6 separate regions of the Homo sapiens genome follow, and all the other regions are linked to region 4. The links are contacts of gene promoters, found by promoter capture Hi-C in blood cells and fetal thymus (Javierre and others, 2016). All regions are on one chromosome and are shown on one strand. The core of a region is centred on a gene start or on the middle of the fragment in contact, and the rest is flanking DNA. Distances in the headings are between cores, read along the strand shown. Region 1 overlaps OR52N2 (olfactory receptor family 52 subfamily N member 2). Region 2 overlaps TRIM22 (tripartite motif containing 22). Region 3 holds the start of CNGA4 (cyclic nucleotide gated channel subunit alpha 4). Region 4 holds the start of TRIM68 (tripartite motif containing 68). Region 5 has its middle 2.1 kb from the start of HPX. Region 6 overlaps TIMM10B (translocase of inner mitochondrial membrane 10B).

Region 1 (2,836 bases), core at 165-2,664, 1.2 Mb after region 4:
AGGTATCCTGTGGCAATTTCAAGGTCAATGCTATTTATGGTCTGATGGTTGCTCTCCTGATTGGTGTGTTTGATATCTGCTGTATCTCTGTATCTTACACTATGATTTTGCAGGCTGTTATGAGCCTGTCATCAGCAGATGCTCGTCACAAAGCCTTCAGCACCTGCACATCTCACATGTGTTCCATTGTGATCACCTATGTTGCTGCTTTTTTCACTTTTTTCACTCATCGTTTTGTAGGACACAATATCCCAAACCACATACACATCATCGTGGCCAACCTTTATCTGCTACTGCCTCCTACCATGAACCCAATTGTTTATGGAGTCAAGACCAAGCAGATTCAGGAAGGTGTAATTAAATTTTTACTTGGAGACAAGGTTAGTTTTACCTATGACAAATGAAACATAGAATAGACATATTGTTTCAGGTGGTGAGAAAATAATGGAGACAAAATTTCATAAAAGATGTGAATAAAATGGTATTAAAATCATGACATGTAATTTACCCATGTAACAAACTTGCACGTGTACCTAAAATAAAAATAGAAATAAAAAATCAAAATAAAGACATAAATTTGTAAGTCACCATAATATGTCAATTTTCTGAAGTCTCTGCAAGTTCTTGAATTTGTGTGTGTTGGGAGTGGGGGCAAGGATCTGCCAAAGCAGAGAATGCAAAATAAAGAAGTAATATACCCATTACTTAAAGAGTTGATGCTTTTCCTAAGCGTTTATAGACTCACATGTTTGTGAGACCAGAAAGGTAGTAAAATAAGGACAGCAGACCTGCTGACAATCCCTGCGTTGCGTGTAAGTGGGGAGGCTGTAGAGACATAGAGAAACGTGGGTCCAGTGTTCACTATTTTTCAGTATTTTTTAAAGACAAGCTAGATTTATATGTTCTATGAAATCTCCCCATTTTAATTGTCAGCAAAATATGTGTTAAAATACCCTATAATTCACAGAAGAATGTCCAAGGGTTCTGTTTTTCCCAAGTCATCAGTTTAGGGTCTCCATTTAAAATGGATCTAAATGGGAACAATAGACTCCAGGTTCTTCGAAAGGAGCGGGAAGAATAAACACTGAAAAGCTTTCTGTTGGATACTACATTCACTATCTGGGTGAAAAAATCTACAGAAGCCCAAACTTCAGCATCATGTAATATAACCTTGTAACAAACCTACACATGTACACTCTGAATCTAAAGTAAAAATAAAATAAATAAATAAATTATAAAATGGATCTGAAAATATAATTGTCATGTTATTGACCAAGCAGGCAAACCATTAAGCTATTAGTATATATTATAATTTATTTATTCATTCACTCATCAATTCATTTTTTGAAACACTAATTTAAGCAATATTATTAGTCATATCTTAGATTTATTGAGAGGGAGGCAGATGATACGGTTCCTGGTTTCAAGATACTCAGAATCTGGACTGTAGCCAGGGATGTGTGAGAAGAAATACATATAAAAGAAAGGGGAGAGAGAAAAAATGAATGCAGTGTGAAGGAAATAAAAAGTTTGTAGGAAAGAATTGGGGGAAATATAACATCAGTTTCAGATTCAATTCATCTCAAGTGTTAAGTCCTCTGTCTTTTAATTTCTAGCCACTAGAGTTGGACAGGCTACATAATCTCTCTAAATTTTGACTTCCATATTTTCTTCCAAATGTGAAAAAGAAAATGTATCACAGAGATGTTTCTTCTAATTAAATGCTCTGATGCAAAAAAAGCTTGTAGCACAATCTCTGATGTATACTAACCATTCAATAAATTTTAGTTATTTTTATGAGCTATTAGTTTCAACTCTGATTCATTATGAAAATCATAGTTTGAGGATAAATCTTTCCAGTTGTACAGGCAGTGCACAGTGCAGTATCAGTTTTGTGTGGACAAGCTTTCTTTTCTTTTTTTTTTTTGAGATGGGGTCTCACTCTGTCACTCAGGTTAGGCTGCAGTGGCATCATCTCGGCTCACTGCAACCTCTGCCTTCTGGACTCAAGTGATCCTCCCACCTCAGCCTCCTGAGTAGTTGTGACACAGGCATGCCCCACCATGCCCAGCTAATTTTTTTGTATTTTTGGTAGAAACAGGGTTTCACTATGTTGCTCAGGCTGGTCTTGAACTCCTGAGCTCAGGAGATTCGCCTGCCTTGGCACCCCAAGGTGCTGGGATTACAGGTGTGAGCCACTATGCCCAGCCATGGGCAAGTTTTCACTGAGTTCTCACAAACATACTATCAATGTCAGCCAACAAGTTTTTCTGGGTACAATCATGTGCCTGACTCCATGTGCCTACTCCACGCTGAGAAATGTAAATGAAAACAAAAACACTAGCTAATTCCTTGTCTAGTAGAGGATATAAAATGCAATGGAATCATTATAAAATGATAACAAGGTAATTGTACATCACAGATGTTCACAAAACTCATGAATCCTGAGAGCATGATCATCAATATCTATTGGAGGTAGTGAGTAAAGATTTTACAGGGAAAATAGTATATAGGGTCAATCTCGAATTATATGTATAAGTGTCCTACAAGGAAAAGCAGATGGAAATTATTTGGAAAAAAATAAACAACCTAGCTCTAATATTAAGGCTGAACAAAGAATAGCAAGTTTAGGTTCACAAAGGTTTTTGTATATTCAGAGGTAAAAGAGAAAGGGTGAGGAGTAAAAAATGTGACTAGAAAGGTAGACAGAGGTCCTATCAGGAAGTGCTTTGTGAGTCTTGTCACAACTTCAGGCATGCCCCACATTGCTCTTCATCTGAGAGATACTAAGTATATTAGAATCACCCTTCAACTTTAAGCAGCTGTTGCCCCATTC
Region 2 (3,158 bases), core at 147-2,646, 1.1 Mb after region 4:
AGAATTGCTTTGTAAGATAAGCTTTCATTGCCCCTCCAAGAAGAACAGTATTTTTGGGAACACGTCTGGTTAGATGTGGGAAGAGTGGCAATGAAAGGACGTCTTTCCTTACTGCAGGGTCTGCTTTTTCTCTAGGAAAAGAATCAGGCTACTCTTGATAAGAGGATGGTGACTTCCATCATCCAGGAATAAAGAATACATTCATCTCCTCAGATTTTCCCCCATGCCATAGGTTCTAATCACCAGCCTCACTGTTTCTGTAAACTAGTTTCTTCTGAGAGCCATCCAATTTCTTCCTTGCTGTCCTCTATTCAGGTGCTGAGAAAGCTCATAACTTTACTCTGGTATAATTTATTTCTTACAGGAAAAGCTGCAGGTAGCCCTGCAGAGGCTGATAAAGGAGGATCAAGAGGCTGAGAAGCTGGAAGATGACATCAGACAAGAGAGAACCGCCTGGAAGGCAGGAGGAGACACCTCCTAAGGGATAATTAGACAGGAATCTGGGCAGGACCCTGGGCTCTATCACAAGGAGACCCCTTCCTCTTTGCTGTGCTAGAATTAACAAGCATAGAAGTCATTTGATTAGGTCTCAATTTAACTCCTTCCCTGTTGGAGTTTAGGGGCTGGAGAGTAGACATATCATAAATCAACACTATATTTGGAAGTGAAGGCATGGAGGGAAATATCTGTGAAAACGCTTCCTGTGAATCCTGTGTTCCATTTGTGTCATCAGGTTTGAGGCTCCAATCCTTCCAGTAAACACCCTGGAGAAAGACCCAGGATTCCCTGTTTAGGGGGTTTCAGTAGGGGGATTTTTTTGTTTGTTTGTTTGTTTTTTGAGACAGAGTCTCTCTCTGTCATACAGGCTGGAGTGTAGTGGCGCGATCTTGGCTCACTGCAACCTCTGCCTCCCTGGTTCAAACGATTCTCCTGCCTCAGCCTCCCGAGTAGCTGGGACTACAGGCATGTGCCACCATGCCCAGCTAATTTTTTGTATTTTTAGTAGAGATGGGGTTTCATCATGTTAGCCAGGATGGTCTCAATCTCCTGACCTTGTGATCCACCCATCTCAGCCTCCCAAAGTGCTGGGATTACAGGCATGAGCCACTGTGCCAGGCCAGGTAGAGGGATTTAAGATACAGAAAGGCAAAGTTGTTCAGGACAGGTGTCTACAATCCAAGCCTCACCCAGGCATCACATTTTGTCTCAGATTAGGCCTCAATAAAACTGACTTGAGTGTATTGCTTTGGGAGGAGCTCAGGTTAAAAAGTAGAAAAACATGGCTTCACCAGAAATTGTGTATTGGCTTTTGCCTCCTATTCCTTTTGAGAACTCCCTGAGGAAAACTGTTCTTATCCTGTCTCCCAGGCTCATACAAAGCAGGCCTTCAACCAGCCAGACTGACTGCCTCTTTCTCTTTTCATTCCCAAGAATTATATCCAGATCGAGAGACAGAAGATTCTGAAAGGGTTCAATGAAATGAGAGTCATCTTGGACAATGAGGAGCAGAGAGAGCTGCAAAAGCTGGAGGAAGGTGAGGTGAATGTGCTGGATAACCTGGCAGCAGCTACAGACCAGCTGGTCCAGCAGAGGCAGGATGCCAGCACGCTCATCTCAGATCTCCAGCGGAGGTTGAGGGGATCGTCAGTAGAGATGCTGCAGGTAAGACTTGGGATGGAGCACCTACGTAAGAGATTAGGGGAAAAACACAGAGGCCGATTTTCCTTCCCTTCCCAGTCTCTAGGCTTTCTTCTGTGTGGTGACATGAAATGGTTCCTTTGGCCCGGCATGCCCCTTTTATGCCCATCATTTCAGGGGTCACAGAGATCATTAAGTGTATGAATGGGAAGGGAAATTCCCATTATTATTCACTTATGAGAGCAGTGTAAAAATTTGAGCTTGGAGAGGATTCTTTGTACCATGAGCATATCAGTTTTAGAACTTTCCCATCACATCAAAAACATTTCTCATGCCTGTTTGCAGTCAATATCTGTTTCTACCTCCACCTCCTGGCAGCCTATCTGTTTTCTGTCTGTATAGAATTGGCTTCTCTGGACCTTTCAATATGAATTGAATTATAAAACATGTAGTCTTTTGCATCTGGCATCTTTAACTTAGCATAATATTTTGAGGTTTATTTATATTGCAGTATGTATCAGCATTTTGCTCTTATTGCTAATACTATTCCATTATCTGAATATATCATATTATGTTTATGTATTCACCAGTTGGTGGCTATATGAATATTTTCCAGTTAGGGACTATTATGAATAATGCTACAGTAAACATTCACTTACATGTCCTCATACAAACATGTTTTCATTTATCTTGAGTAGATTTTAAGAGTGTTGTATGTTGTGGCCGGGCGCGGTGGCTCACGCCTGTAATCCCAGCACTTTGGGAGGCCGAGGCGGGTGGATCATGAGGTCAGGAGATCGAGACCATCCTGGCTAACAAGGTGAAACCCCGTCTCTACTAAAAATACAAAAAATTAGCCGGGCGCGGTGGCGGGCGCCTGTAGTCCCAGCTACTCGGGAGGCTGAGGCAGGAGAATGGCGTGAACCCGGGAAGCGGAGCTTGCAATGAACCGAGATTGCGCCACTGCAGTCCGCAGTCCGGCCTGGGCGACAGAGCGAGACTCCGTCTCAAAAAAAAAAAAAAAAAAAAAAAAAAAAAAAAAAAAAAAGAGTGTTGTATGTTGTTTATGTATAAGTTTTAAGTTGTCGTACTATTTTCCAAAGTTGTTACTCACTTTATATGAGTAACAATACAAAAGCTTATAAAAAGCAATATAAAAAGTTTCTAGGTTCTTCACATCCTTGTTAATACTTGATTATTTCCTTTTTTTTTTTTTTTTTAGTTACAGCCTTTCTAGTGGGAACATAATGGTATCTCAATGCAGTTTTGATTTGCTTTTTCCTAATAACTAACACTGCTGAAAAGCTTATTATTTCCACATGTAGATTCTGTACCTTTTTAAAGAGTTTTTTCTGTTTTACTTTTGGTGCTATTGTAATTTTTTTTTTATTTCAAATTTCAATTCTTCATTGCTGGCACATAGAAAGGAAACTGACTTTAGTATTTTAATCTTGTATATTGCAACCTTGCTATAATTACTTATTAGTCATAGAAGAGTTTTTTTTTTAATGTCAATTCTT
Region 3 (2,941 bases), core at 324-2,823, 1.6 Mb after region 4:
GGTGACCGCGGGATACCCAAGTAGGAACATCCAGTGAGCAGTTAGTCATATAGATAACTGAAACTCAGGGAGAGTTCTCGGGAGCCACTATATGAGAAAGGAAGTCCTGTGGGTGACTGACGTCAATCAGACAGAGTTAGGAGGATGGCAAAAGTAGAAAGCCTAGAACAGAATCCAAGAAAAAAAAAAAACACCATCATAGAAGGAATAGACAGAGGAGCTTATGAAAGACACTAAAAAGAAACAGCAAACCAAGACATTATGGCATTACAAAGGATTTTATTCATTTTGTTGCATTACTTTGAATGTTGTCTTTTTATTTTAACAAGCGTAATACTTTGCAAAAAGAAATTAAGAAGCCATGGGAAAAGAGAGTTTTTCAAAATTTAATTAGGGACCACAGGTTTTTCTTCTAAAACACACTCCAAAAACACAAACCTGATTTTATCACTGAACTGTGAAAAACTCTTCACAGGTTCTCTATTGCCGTTGGGTAAAATCCAAGCTTTATAACATGGCTGACAGAACTCCTCCTGAGCTGGCCTCTGTCTATCATTCAACCTCATCTCTCACCACTACCCGCTAGGCCCTCTAAAATAAGCCAATTGATATTTGCCCAGTCACCCACGCTTTTTGATATCTCTATGCCTTTGCCCACTCTGTGCATTCTGCCTCTAGTGCTCTTCACCCTCCCATCTCTGTACCCAACTCCTATTCATCCTGCAGAACCCAGGCTCTGTAGGGCCACTTCATGTGTACTATAATAGCCTTCCGTGTATCCAGCTAACAGAGTACTCATCAGCAGCCTGGCAATGACTGCTGCTGTTTAGTTACCTCATGTGTAATTACCTGCTGGCCTGACTATTTCACCTAGCAGACTGTGAGCTTCTGGAGAAGGGGGAGCGTGTCTTATTCATCTCCAATTCCTAGTATTTAGCACAATATTGGCCTGGCACACAGAACACCTGCCTATGGGTGTTCTGATTTTGATTTGTTGACTGAGAAAGATGATAGCAGTGAAAGGAACATCAGGTTGAGGGAGAAATTGTAGGGTTTTTGTTTGTTTTGATATAGGAGATATTGAAGCAGGTTCACAAAAAGAGAAAAGTTGAAAGATTGGGGACCATAAAACACATGGAATGGTTGGTAGGATCAGGCACTAGAAGTCACAAGAAGGATATGAGGACAAAAGCACCATAGGATGGCCCCTATCACACTACCTATGAGAATGGTGTGATGGGGGAAGGCGTATGTGGAGGTAGATAAGGGTAGGAAGTAGGTTACAAAAATAGAGCTCACTTCTCATGTGAGAGGCATCTCTTTGTCCCTGGAGAATAGTTTAGCACCTGACATAGATAAGCCATTCAGTAATAGTTGTTAAATAAATAAATAGTGAGGCCCAAATAGAATTTGCAAAGATAAAACAGAGTGTTTGATCCTACACTAAAACTGAGGTCTTCTGACCCAGAGGACACCTATGTAGCTCAGTTGCTGTGGAAAGAGGGGAGGAGGAAAACAGAGACAAGACTCAGGCTTCCCTCTGAGGCATGCACCCCCACCTTCTCCAGGGATCTCATTAGAGGTGTTTAGCTGGGCAGGTGTAAGCCCAGGCCCTGGGAGACAGGGCAGAGTGCTAGAGCTAGACTGTCTCCACCCCTTCAGTAGCGCTAGCTCTGGTTGTGTTGCTAAGAGCCCCAAAGACAAAGAAGTCACAGCAGAAGCCCAACAGCAGCCTCCTTCAGGCAGTCAGGCACTAGTGCCCAACTCCAGAAGTCCCCTACAGGCAGAGAGGGTGTGGACATCTCACACCCCAGCACCAGACCACAGAACCATGAGCCAGGACACCAAAGTGAAGACAACAGAGTCCAGTCCCCCAGCCCCATCCAAGGCCAGGTGAGAAGTCCTGGTCCCTTGTGTGGGATCTCTCCTCATTCCTCTTGGTGCCCCAGTCACAACTACAGCTTTGAATGCCTGGTGAATAAATGAAGCAAGACTTTCTTTCTTACAGGAAGTTGCTGCCTGTCCTGGACCCATCTGGGGATTACTACTACTGGTGGCTGAACACAATGGTCTTCCCAGTCATGTATAACCTCATCATCCTCGTGTGCAGGTATGGCAGCGGTGCTAAGGGAGGGGCTGGAAGCCAAAAAGAGGACTAAAGAGAGGTCAAGGAGAAGGGCAGACCCTTGGTGGGGCAGGAGGAGCAATTCCCATGGGAGGGCCTGAGGCAGAGGGTTAAGGGCCCTGGGGAGACGCCTCGCACACAGAGGGTGCCCTTAATTCAATCATGCTTAACCCTGCCCTGCAGAGCCTGCTTCCCCGACTTGCAGCACGGTTATCTGGTGGCCTGGTTGGTGCTGGACTACACGAGTGACCTGCTATACCTACTAGACATGGTGGTGCGCTTCCACACAGGTCAGTGGGCTTCTAGGAATGACCCTTTGTCCCACATTCCCTTCCTAAAGATAGCCACTTAAGAAGTAACAAGAAAGGCACCCCCACCGTGGTAGCACCTTCGCGTGCCTCTATGCCTGACAGCATCCCAGTGCTCACCCCGGAAAGCCGGGAGCAGAGTTATGCCTGGCTCCACTCTGTCCTTCAGACAGTCTCCCTGGCCTGCCCTGGGCAGCTCATGCTCAGCCCAAGCTTGACTACAGCAGGTCCGCTTCCTACCGGCTCCCTCTCCCCAGGATTCTTGGAACAGGGCATCCTGGTGGTGGACAAGGGTAGGATCTCGAGTCGCTACGTTCGCACCTGGAGTTTCTTCTTGGACCTGGCTTCCCTGATGCCCACAGATGTGGTCTACGTGCGGCTGGGCCCGCACACACCCACCCTGAGGCTGAACCGCTTTCTCCGCGCGCCCCGCCTCTTCGAGGCCTTCGACCGCACAGAGACCCGCACAGCTTACCCAAATGCCTTTCGCATTGCCAAGCTGATGCTT
Region 4 (2,841 bases), core at 336-2,835:
CAGGCACTGTTCTGAGCACTTTACATGAATTAAGTTGGTTTATTTCACAACCCTAGGCAGAGGCCATTATTGTTCTCATTTTACAGATGTTTGGCTTGGGGCTCTGCCATCTATCTTGGGCAAATTTCTTAACCTCTTTAGCTTTAAGGTATAATACAAATTCAAGAGGAGAGAAAAATCACTGTGGTTTAGCGCAGTCCAGTAGCAGGAAGCAGGAAGCAGAGCAGTAAATCTTGCAGGACTCTGATATGCCATTGGCAGGGCATGCCTTCTCACTAGACTCCCTGCCTCCTGCTTTTCTTCCTCCCACTATCACTACCAAACTGTGGGATCCAGTATCCTAAAACCTCATTTTGGTAAATCACTAACTTACTAAATAATCTATCCTGGCTCCCGGTTAACAAGATCTCTCCTTGAAACAGCACCTGTGCCCAGCTAGGCAAAGGAATAAACTTCCACACACTCCCGCAAACCCCTCGTCCATTCAATCTACCTGACTTGGGTGCCTGCTATTCTCCCAGCTGAAAATGACTTCTACATGATCCTGCCTTTGACGTCATTTGCCATGTATTCGTCTATTGTCTTACTTCCCATACTAGAACTTTTTCATGTGGATAGGGTCATTGTCTGTTTTGTCCATTTCTATTTCCCCAGTGCCAAGAACAGTGCCTCAAATACTTGTTGAATACGTGAAAACTAAATGTAAATGTTGAGTTCCAACCGATAGTAGATTGAAAGTGGAGGATGTGTTAATATCCTTAGCTAAGTCAGTAGAGACATTAAGAGACACCATCTAAAGTCAATAAAACAATAAATGGAAGTTGATACCCATTATTTAAAGCTACAAATGGAAGACCTAAAATAGCGATGGAAAATTGACAAGATTGTGGCAGTAAGAAAGTAAGGCAAAGAAATATCAAAATGATAAATCCAGAAATACAGTGGAACGCATATTATTTTGATTTAGGGTGCTAAAAACATCTAAATGGGGACAAACTAAAAGTGGCAGCCTCTGCAAAGATCTGGGGATGGGTAGTTACTGCTCTTCAAAATAAGACCTGCTTTAATGTTTGACTTTTTATTATACATGAATTACTTTGAGAAAATTCAAATAATTAAACGTTCGGTTGCTTTGACTGTGCCTTCCGTAGGGTACAGCGAGAGTCTGAGAAGGGCATTTGAGAAGGGGGCGGGGCCTGGAAGACTTCCAGTTAGGACCCCAGCGGGAAGGGAGTCGAGGGGCGGGCGGTAACCTCCGGAGTCAGGGAGCAGCTCCTGGCCTGGCCACAGGGCGTTGGGCAGGTCCCCAGGACAGCGGGCGGGTGGGGGTAAAGTGAGCGTGCGGGATCTGACTTCAGAAAAGGCAGAGTTATCTACCCACCTCCCTCCTCGGCCCGGACTGGCGCTTCGCGGCGGAAACTCAAAGTGAAGAAGCCTGGTTCCGCAGCGTCCAATGGCCCAGCGTCAGAAGCTGCCGTTCCCGGCAGCTCAGCACTTAGGGCCAGAGAGCGGCAGAGGCCCAGAACCCAAAGCCCGGCAGCGCAGGCCCAGTAGCCCGCAGCTCCCAGAATACTACACCCGGCTCTAGGCCCCGCTCGCGGGACGGCAGCCAATGAGCGGCCGGCTGGGCCCAGGTTGGCTTCGCCCAGGGGGCGGTGTGTTTGTGGGGGCAGCCAATCACAGGCAGGGACCAGGGTACCCCTAGCCAATTGGTGATGAGACGGGGGTTTCGGCGCTTCTAGGCATGTCAATGTTTTTTCTCTACTTCCTGGGTTTTTCTGGTCCCTTCACCGACTCAGATTCCCTTAAACTGTAGAGGGTTCTAGGAGTTAGTTCTAGGATAGGTCAAAGGATTGAGGCTCCCAAATGATGCCGCTCAGGCACTGCATTAAGAGAGGCTCAGGTGGCTATTCATTTGCCAGTTTGACTTGTTAAACTCAGAAGCCTGAGATTGGCCAAGTCTGGTTCTGTGACCCATCTTAGCAAAGGGTTGGGCGCACATATGGTGTGGACTCTGCTGTTCCTGGCAAGATTCGCGACCTCTCATGGTTCCAGGCTTTAAATACTGGGTTCTTAAACAAAACAAAACAAAACAAAACAAAACCCTCTCTTTTTTCGTTTTTACTTCAGCAACCAGCTTGTCATCACTATTGCCACAATCCACTTTTAGAGTGAAAAACAGACAACAGAGACCGGGAGTTGATGGAGAAATGGAAACCCTGGTCAAAAATTGTCATTAAAAAAGGAAAAAAAAATTAAACAACTGGTATCCCTTCCTCACCCAAACACATAGACACATGCACGCACACACAAAAACTGTTACTTAAGACAGTGATATGGGTTTTTCTTTGTACTCCCAGGGCCTTGTCCTTCTCTTGACACTTAGGTTTTAATAAGCAAGTGAAGGCACCTCCTATCCGCATAGAAAATAACCAGGAAATCTTCCAATTGAAGCTCGGTTCCAAATTATATAATATCTTAATTGTTAGGACAGATACTCCAGAATGCTCATGCCAGTGTCTGAGCCCCGGCCATGGTTAAAATTCTGAAGGGTGAGGCCCAGAAATTTCCTGCAACAAATAGGTCTATGAGAAAAAACAAAAGTATCTTAGGTCTGAGCTGTACCCTCTGTCTCACCCAGTTTTGGAGAAATGGCTGCTCTAATAGAATAATGAATGGATTAATTGAAATAAGCCATTTTAAACATTTATTTAACATCAATTTTCTTGACAATATTTTACTGGGTGCTGGGATTACAACTATGGGACATATAGTCTCTGCCTTTAAGGAGCTGAAGGTCAAGTTGGTTGTACTGCTCTGGAATCTCTGTGAAGTTAAAAC
Region 5 (3,088 bases), core at 441-2,940, 1.8 Mb after region 4:
TCCAAGCCCCATGCCCAGCCTCTCGCCTTCCCTGACTGGCAAAGGGCTTTGCAAAAAGTGCCTGGAAGTGAAGGGTTGACAGTAATGAGGCAGAAACAGGAGGTGTCTCTCTTCCAGAGAGCACCACCACTACTAGTAATTAGTCTTTCTTGGTAGTTTCCACCTTGGGGGAAAAAGCTTTATTTAACCAACCCAGAACAAATAGAACTGTAACTGGAATTTCACAATATTTCTAGCTGACTCCTGCTTAAATGCTACCTTCTCAATGAAGCCTTTCTTGACCACCTTATCTAGCCATTTCAGACCCTTGCTTGTTTTATTTTACTTACTAAAACTTGAAATTCTTTCATCTGTCTACTTATCTGGTGATGGTTGTTGTTGCTTTGCTTTGTTTTGCCTGTCTTGTTTACCATTATATATCCCTGACTCCTAAAATAGTGCCTGGCATATAAGAGTTGTTCCAGAAATATTTGTTGAATGAAAAAAATGCAAAAATGCATTTCAAGTACTGAGTAGTGTTGCTAGTGTTGCAGCCAAATTTCTGACAATTTCCCCCCCTCTAGGGTAGGAGAATATTAGGAATTGGGGGTAGGTTATGGTAGTAGGCATAATGAGATCTAGGAGTCACAGACGCCCTTTATCTGACAGTCCTGTTTCTCTCTCCAGTGTCTCGGCCCCACATCCATCTCTTCCTGGGATCTCACCTGCTATCCTCAGTACTTCCTGGGCCCACTCCCAAAGCTGCCCCATTTCTGTGTGAGATTTGCCTAGTGAGTCAGAAAAGAATTATGGGCAGACTCAGCTATGGGCCAGGATGAAGTTCCAGGACCCCTGCTCCCTAGCCAAGGCTGAAAGGGCCCTGATCCCTCACAGATGGCTCCAGACCCCTGACAGTCCCATATATAATCTTACCAAAAGTCTCAGATCCCTTTTCTACTCTGCGAAGTTTCCTTCCAACAGGAAAACACACATTCCGGAACCTCTGGAACAACATGTCACCAGGCCTCTGCCATCAGGCTCAATGTCCTCTCCTGACTTACGAATGAAAATGTGCTGTGAACATCATTCCCTCCTCATAGGTCAGTGGGCAAGGCTGGACTCTCTGAGTCCTTGGCAGCCTGGGCAATGCCATCGCTGCTACAGCCAATGTCTCATACTCACCTTCTCCCCATTGCAGGGCATGTCTTCTTTCTGGGTGTTGGGCAATGGGAGCCACTATTCTAAGACTCCCCCTCACCTTTTCTTTCCCTCTCAGCCTCTGAAACCTTATATTCTCCCTCCTGAGCACCCCATGATCCTCCATCAGGAATTTCCTCAACAACTTGTCTTCAGCTGTCAGAACCCTGTCTGAATCCTACAGATTTTGCTGGGCCTGCCTGGGGAGAGGGAAGCTTTCACCCCAAGAAACAAACACCCCACAGAAAACCCATAGTGAGAGTCTTCAATAGTCCTATTAGCAGGGCCTTGCACTGACTTGCCAGTCCAAGGGTGCAGTCTCCTTCTGGCCTAACAGGGCTGTCTGAGGGCATACAGCACATATACTGGATGATCATTTTTCAGCTTGACCCCTTCCCCACACACCTGGTGTGGTCCCCCTCACAGCACCCCGGATCCATCTATCCCAGAATACTACTTTATGGTCCCTTTTCCCTGTTGCTTCCTAATTCACCTGTGTACCCGAGAATGGCTTAGAAACCATTACTGGATCCTCCTGCTCCACCCAGGGACTAGGCCAGCAGAGTCATCTGCACTGCAGGCAGTCCAGGTTGAAGTTCAAGTTTTGGGCAGGAGTTGAAAGTAGAACATTGTACACATTTGGGAACCCAGGGCTGTGGATATGTTGGCCACCCTGGTGTTGGTCACAGGGTACAAGCCAAGACTTCTCAGGGTAGTCAAGACTCAGCAGCCTTGCTTCTCTTCCCCTCACTACAGGAGGCCCCTTCTGTGGGTCCTGGGTCCTTCCCAGGCTTCCTACTGGGGCTGAGGAAAGAAGCTTGTCGGTACTTGGGCCTGAGCACCCCCTGCAGGCCGCAGGAATCAGTGCACTCCCGCCCTTCAACTAGAGGCCAGAGCCCAGGAGTTTTTCCTCTCTGAAACTAGCTCTCCACAGCCTTTGTCCCACACTCCTCTCAGCCCTGGCTGTGCATCCTTAGTGGTACACACCCTTCTATGCTTCTTTCCCTTCTTCTGCAAACCTTGCTGCCCAGAGTGGATTTGGGGACCTCAATCTCTTGCTTCTCTGGGAACTCGAGCCCAGAGAAATTCAACCATCTCTTTTCCTGGGTAGTCTTCTCTATCCTCCTAACCAGCAGCTTTTTTACTTCTCCCAGAAGGGGTCTGAACACGAACCTGCAAATGTCTGCAAATGACAGAGCTTCCTCCTGCATTGCCAAGAGCCAGATGTAAGCTGGACACTGACCCACTGTCCCTTGGAATGGCTATGTCTATGTCCAGCCTGCTCTGCTGTTGATATGAGTTCTCTGACCTTAGCCATTTCTCCTGGGCCCACTGAGTGCTAGGTGTGCTGGGCCTGAAGTCTGTGGCTGTATACTCCAGGGAGCAGGAACTGAATGTCTCCTTTCCTCAGGGGTAGGAGGCTTAGGGATAAAGCTCCAGGCAGCCAAAGAGCTTGCTGATCCCAGCTGACCCCTCCTCTTGCTCAGTCTATAATGGGCCTTAGTGCTATATATATATATATATAGCATGTATATAGCACTTGCTATGGTTTGAATGTTTCTGTCCCCTCCGAATTGATGTGTTGGAAGCTTAATTCCCAATGTGCCAGTGTTTGGAGGTGCGGCCTCATGAGAGGTGTTTAGGTCATGAGAGCTCTGCCCGATGAATGGATTAATGCTGCTATAAAAAGGGCTTTCAGAAGTGGATTCTCTCTCCTCTGCTTTTCTGCCACGTGATGAACAGCATTTGTCTCCTCTAGAGGATGCAGCGTTCAAAATGCCATCATAGAAGCAGAGACCAGGACCTCACCACACACCAAACCTGCTGGGCACCTTAATCTTGGACTTCCCAGCCTCCAGAACTGTGAGAAATACATTTTTGTTCATTATAAATCATCAGTCATGGGCATTTT
Region 6 (3,203 bases), core at 148-2,647, 1.9 Mb after region 4:
GGTGTCCTTGCTCCTTTTCCTGGAGCCAATATACCCAGTTTTTACTCAGTTTGATTTATATTCTGGGCAAGGAAGCTTTGCCTACTTTATTGGCACAATCCGTTGTTCTGTCGTTTAGTGCATATCTGCTGGCTTCAGCCCTGGCAGCTGAGAAATTGTTTTCTATATGTAGAAGGAAAACCTGAGCATTTGCAGGCATCTGGTTAAAGCAGGGTCTGTGTGTACAATTTTAAAACGGGTAATATGTCATGCTCTTAGTTCATCTTCACAACAAAACTATGAGTAAGCGGTATTAGCCTCACTTAACAGATGAGGAAGCAAGATTCCAGAAAGTACCAGAAGGTCATTTTATACAACAGGAGATTGGTTCCTGCCCAGATGACAGAAAATGGGAGCTCTGTCTAGTTGTCCTTAAGTCTGACTGACTTCAGTGGCTCATAACCGTGAGCCAAGTATTTGTTGGTTCATAACTGTTGTTTTGTGAACTATGTCTTACATGTCTAGAGTTCTGCTGGATCTAGGGAAAGGAGGAGCTATCGAAGTACAACGGATCAAAAAACCACAGGGCTTTTGGGCACTGCCTCCTTGGGAAGTTAGTGGCCACAGAAGAGAGATGAAACCTGTAAGAAGTCTGGAGTCTTTTGGAACTTCAGCCATTTCCCCAGGTTGTTACTTTCTTAGTATGTACAGTCTTCTCAGGATGAGCAGTAAAACCTTTGAACAAAGGTCTGTGTGGTTGTCTTCACGGGCAATCAGGAAGGGAGAGAGCTGGGGACCATATTCTGCAATGCAGCCAAATCCGAGGAAGAGAAACTGAAGGGAGAAGTAGATGGCAATGGTTATGATAAAAAGGGATAAAACTAAATCTTCGGGACTTCTTTAATGCTACGTTAATGTTTCACTGCTCGTCTAGAAACTCCTAAATCCAGCTTTCTATCATCTGCCCCACATTGGTCCCATTGAGTACATTCTGTGATTTCTAATTCCAGCCTCTCCATTCTTTTCTCATTATTGCCTCCCCCGCCCCCCAACTTTGTGTAATTTACTTCTGTATTCAGCAGCCTGGATAGCATATCATTCCATCACCCCATTTTCTTGCCACCATTGGCCATCTTTTTGTATCATTCCACTTATTCTGTCTTTTCCATTCCTTCATTCAAACTGCTAGAGAAAAACAGTTGTGTAATGAATGCCACTAAATATTCAAGGCCTCCAACCTCAGCCAAGTCCTCACACCAACACGCAGTCACACCAACACACACCTTTATGGGTTCCTGGTCCATTTCCTTCTCTAATTACCATGGCAGTTATTTTACACCTCTACTGCTGTCCTTAATCCCATACCCCACCCTCATCAGGTGACCCTGTTTCCTTTTTTAGAGAAATTGAAGCTCTTAGACATTGGTTTCCACAGTAATAATTTTAAAACTTCTTACAACTACCTACAAAGCAGATGTTCTATCCTATCTACAGAGCAGAAAATTGAAATTCTCAAGTAGCAGACCCGGTATTAAAGTGCAGATCTGACTTTAAAGTCCATGTTCATTTTACACAGCAGGCTGCCTCTTAAGATAGTATTTATTGAGCACACACTTTGTGTAGGTTCTGATTTTGGTAGATGTCATGCTTTATATTAATCTTTACAACAACTATAAGTAAGAGGTATTAACCTCACTTAACAGATGAGGAAGCAAGAATCCAGAATGTGCCAGAAGGCACATTCTGCAGATTTCGTGCAAACATTTATACACAGCTTCTTTTTTTTTTTTTTGAGACAGAGTCTCGCTCTGTCACCCAGGCTGGAGTGCAGTGGAGCGATCTAGGCTCACTGCAACCTCCGCCACCCGGGTTCAAGCAGTTCTCCTGCCTCAGCCTCTCGAGTAGCTGGGATTACAGGCATGCGCCACCACGCCCAGCTAATTTTGTTTTTGTATTTTAAGTAGAGACGGGGTTTCACTGTATTGGTCAGGCTGGTCTTGAACTCCTGACCTTGTGATCCGCCCGCCTCGGCCTCCAAAAGTGCTGGGATTACAGGTGTGAGCCACCACGGCCGGCCTATACAAAGTTTCTTATTGAGAAAAGTGGTTCCAATCATGTTTTTTGCCCCCTTTAGCTGCTATCTCTTGAACAGAAAAGTTTGTTAGGAAGGTAAAAGTTGCTGACTAGGACCTTACCCACAGGGTGGCACTCTGTCCTTGGGAAATATAAATGCAAGTAAAACAGGTTTGAACTTCTTAACTTCCAGAAGATAGGAGGATGGGACCTGTGATACTGTGCTGCTGGTGGGAGGACCCTTCCACATCAACATTTGTGTGTATCCTTGCAATAAACTTCCATTGTGAATTATCTGTGCTTCCCGTCCTTCCATGTCACACAATAGTAATTGCTAAAGAAGAGCTAGGAGCATAGATCTGTCTGATTCTAAAGCCTTTGCTCTTTGAACTTTGAGAGCTTCTATCTGTACTTAACCTGCCTCTAGGCATGAAAAAACAAATGTCCCTCAGTCTGACCCATCTCTTAATCCCTTTCTTAAAATTTCAATCTCTTGTCCTGGTTCTTTCCTGTTTATAAATATGTTCAGTGTTCAGGAGAAAAACCTTATTCCTACCACTTTACCTTCCATAATCTGGTCTTCCTCAGGTTTTACCATAAAGTGATAGCCATTGGCATAATCGGAGCAATGTGATGTTCCAAGCACAACACTAAAGAATAAATGTTGACAAGCTTTATCATGTTATCATAAATGTAAACGTTGGAGATACTTTGTTGTTCCTGCCATTGTGGCTTCAGAACTGCCCACTCCTTTGCAAAGCCTCATTCTTTTGAGGCTGTTCATCCATACAACCCTCTGATTACTTGTCTACCACTCTCATTTACTACTACTCTCCTGCTACTTTAAATAGCTAGCCCTTGGTCTTCCTGTCCACTCCTTGATATTTTAACATTTACATAGACAATTCATTTGGTGTTTTGTCTCCTAGTTATTTGGCCCAATCTCTGATGATTTCCACTCTGTCTTGGCCACTCACTCCGTTTGTCATATCTTGGCCATTATCATCACCTCAAATTGCTCCATCTTCAAAATACTTGCATCTTATTTATTGACCATATTCCTTCCACTTGGTTTATTGAACTATTCCCTCTATCATTCTCTGATTTCACTGCAGCCAATGCTTCTGCTTTCCATTAGTCCCTTCCTTCTT

Evidence for each region. Contacts are between HindIII fragments. The CHiCAGO score rates a contact against its expected background, and 5 or more counts as called.
Region 1: a fragment that was not itself captured here is called in contact with the fragment with the promoter of TRIM68 in region 4 in 1 of 17 cell types (total CD8 T cells); the score reaches 7.1 in total CD8 T cells.
Region 2: a contact is called between a fragment that was not itself captured here and the fragment with the promoter of TRIM68 in region 4, in 1 of 17 cell types (total CD4 T cells). The highest score is 6.4, in total CD4 T cells.
Region 3: a fragment that was not itself captured here is called in contact with the fragment with the promoter of TRIM68 in region 4 in 2 of 17 cell types (naive CD8 T cells and total B cells); the score reaches 6.1 in naive CD8 T cells.
Region 5: a contact is called between a fragment that was not itself captured here and the fragment with the promoter of TRIM68 in region 4, in 1 of 17 cell types (activated CD4 T cells). The highest score is 5.5, in activated CD4 T cells.
Region 6: a fragment that was not itself captured here is called in contact with the fragment with the promoter of TRIM68 in region 4 in 1 of 17 cell types (non-activated CD4 T cells); the score reaches 6.3 in non-activated CD4 T cells.

Annotation. Positions count from the first base shown.
Region 1 is chr11:5,820,898-5,823,733 of GRCh38, forward strand. OR52N2 (olfactory receptor family 52 subfamily N member 2) reads left to right here. Exons shown (of 2, transcript NM_001005174.3): 2 at 1-586. The coding sequence ends at 404. Among named protein-coding and RNA genes, the nearest start is that of OR52N2, 13 kb to the left of the region's middle. The HindIII fragment of the contact is 649 bases long and covers 1,091-1,739 here.
Region 2 is chr11:5,696,884-5,700,041 of GRCh38, forward strand. It overlaps TRIM22 (tripartite motif containing 22), which reads left to right. Exons shown (of 8, transcript NM_006074.5): 3 at 365-460; 4 at 1,432-1,662. Among named protein-coding and RNA genes, the nearest start is that of TRIM22, 8.7 kb to the left of the region's middle. The HindIII fragment of the contact is 2,755 bases long and covers 20-2,774 here.
Region 3 is chr11:6,237,376-6,240,316 of GRCh38, forward strand. CNGA4 (cyclic nucleotide gated channel subunit alpha 4) reads left to right here and starts at 1,714. Exons shown (of 6, transcript NM_001037329.4): 1 at 1,714-1,893; 2 at 2,009-2,110; 3 at 2,309-2,415; 4 at 2,691-2,941. The coding sequence starts at 1,832. The HindIII fragment of the contact is 2,141 bases long and covers 504-2,644 here.
Region 4 is chr11:4,606,646-4,609,486 of GRCh38, forward strand. It overlaps TRIM68 (tripartite motif containing 68), which reads right to left and starts at 1,586. Exons shown (of 7, transcript NM_018073.8): 1 at 1,382-1,586. RefSeq lists silencers at 1,151-1,230, 1,541-1,750. The HindIII fragment of the contact is 6,370 bases long and covers 1-2,841 here.
Region 5 is chr11:6,441,575-6,444,662 of GRCh38, forward strand. No RefSeq gene overlaps it. Among named protein-coding and RNA genes, the nearest start is that of HPX, 2.1 kb to the left of the region's middle. RefSeq lists an enhancer at 1,781-1,850. The HindIII fragment of the contact is 602 bases long and covers 1,390-1,991 here.
Region 6 is chr11:6,482,336-6,485,538 of GRCh38, forward strand. It overlaps TIMM10B (translocase of inner mitochondrial membrane 10B), which reads left to right. Exons shown (of 3, transcript NM_012192.4): 3 at 1-2,346. Among named protein-coding and RNA genes, the nearest start is that of TIMM10B, 2.4 kb to the left of the region's middle. The HindIII fragment of the contact is 2,649 bases long and covers 74-2,722 here.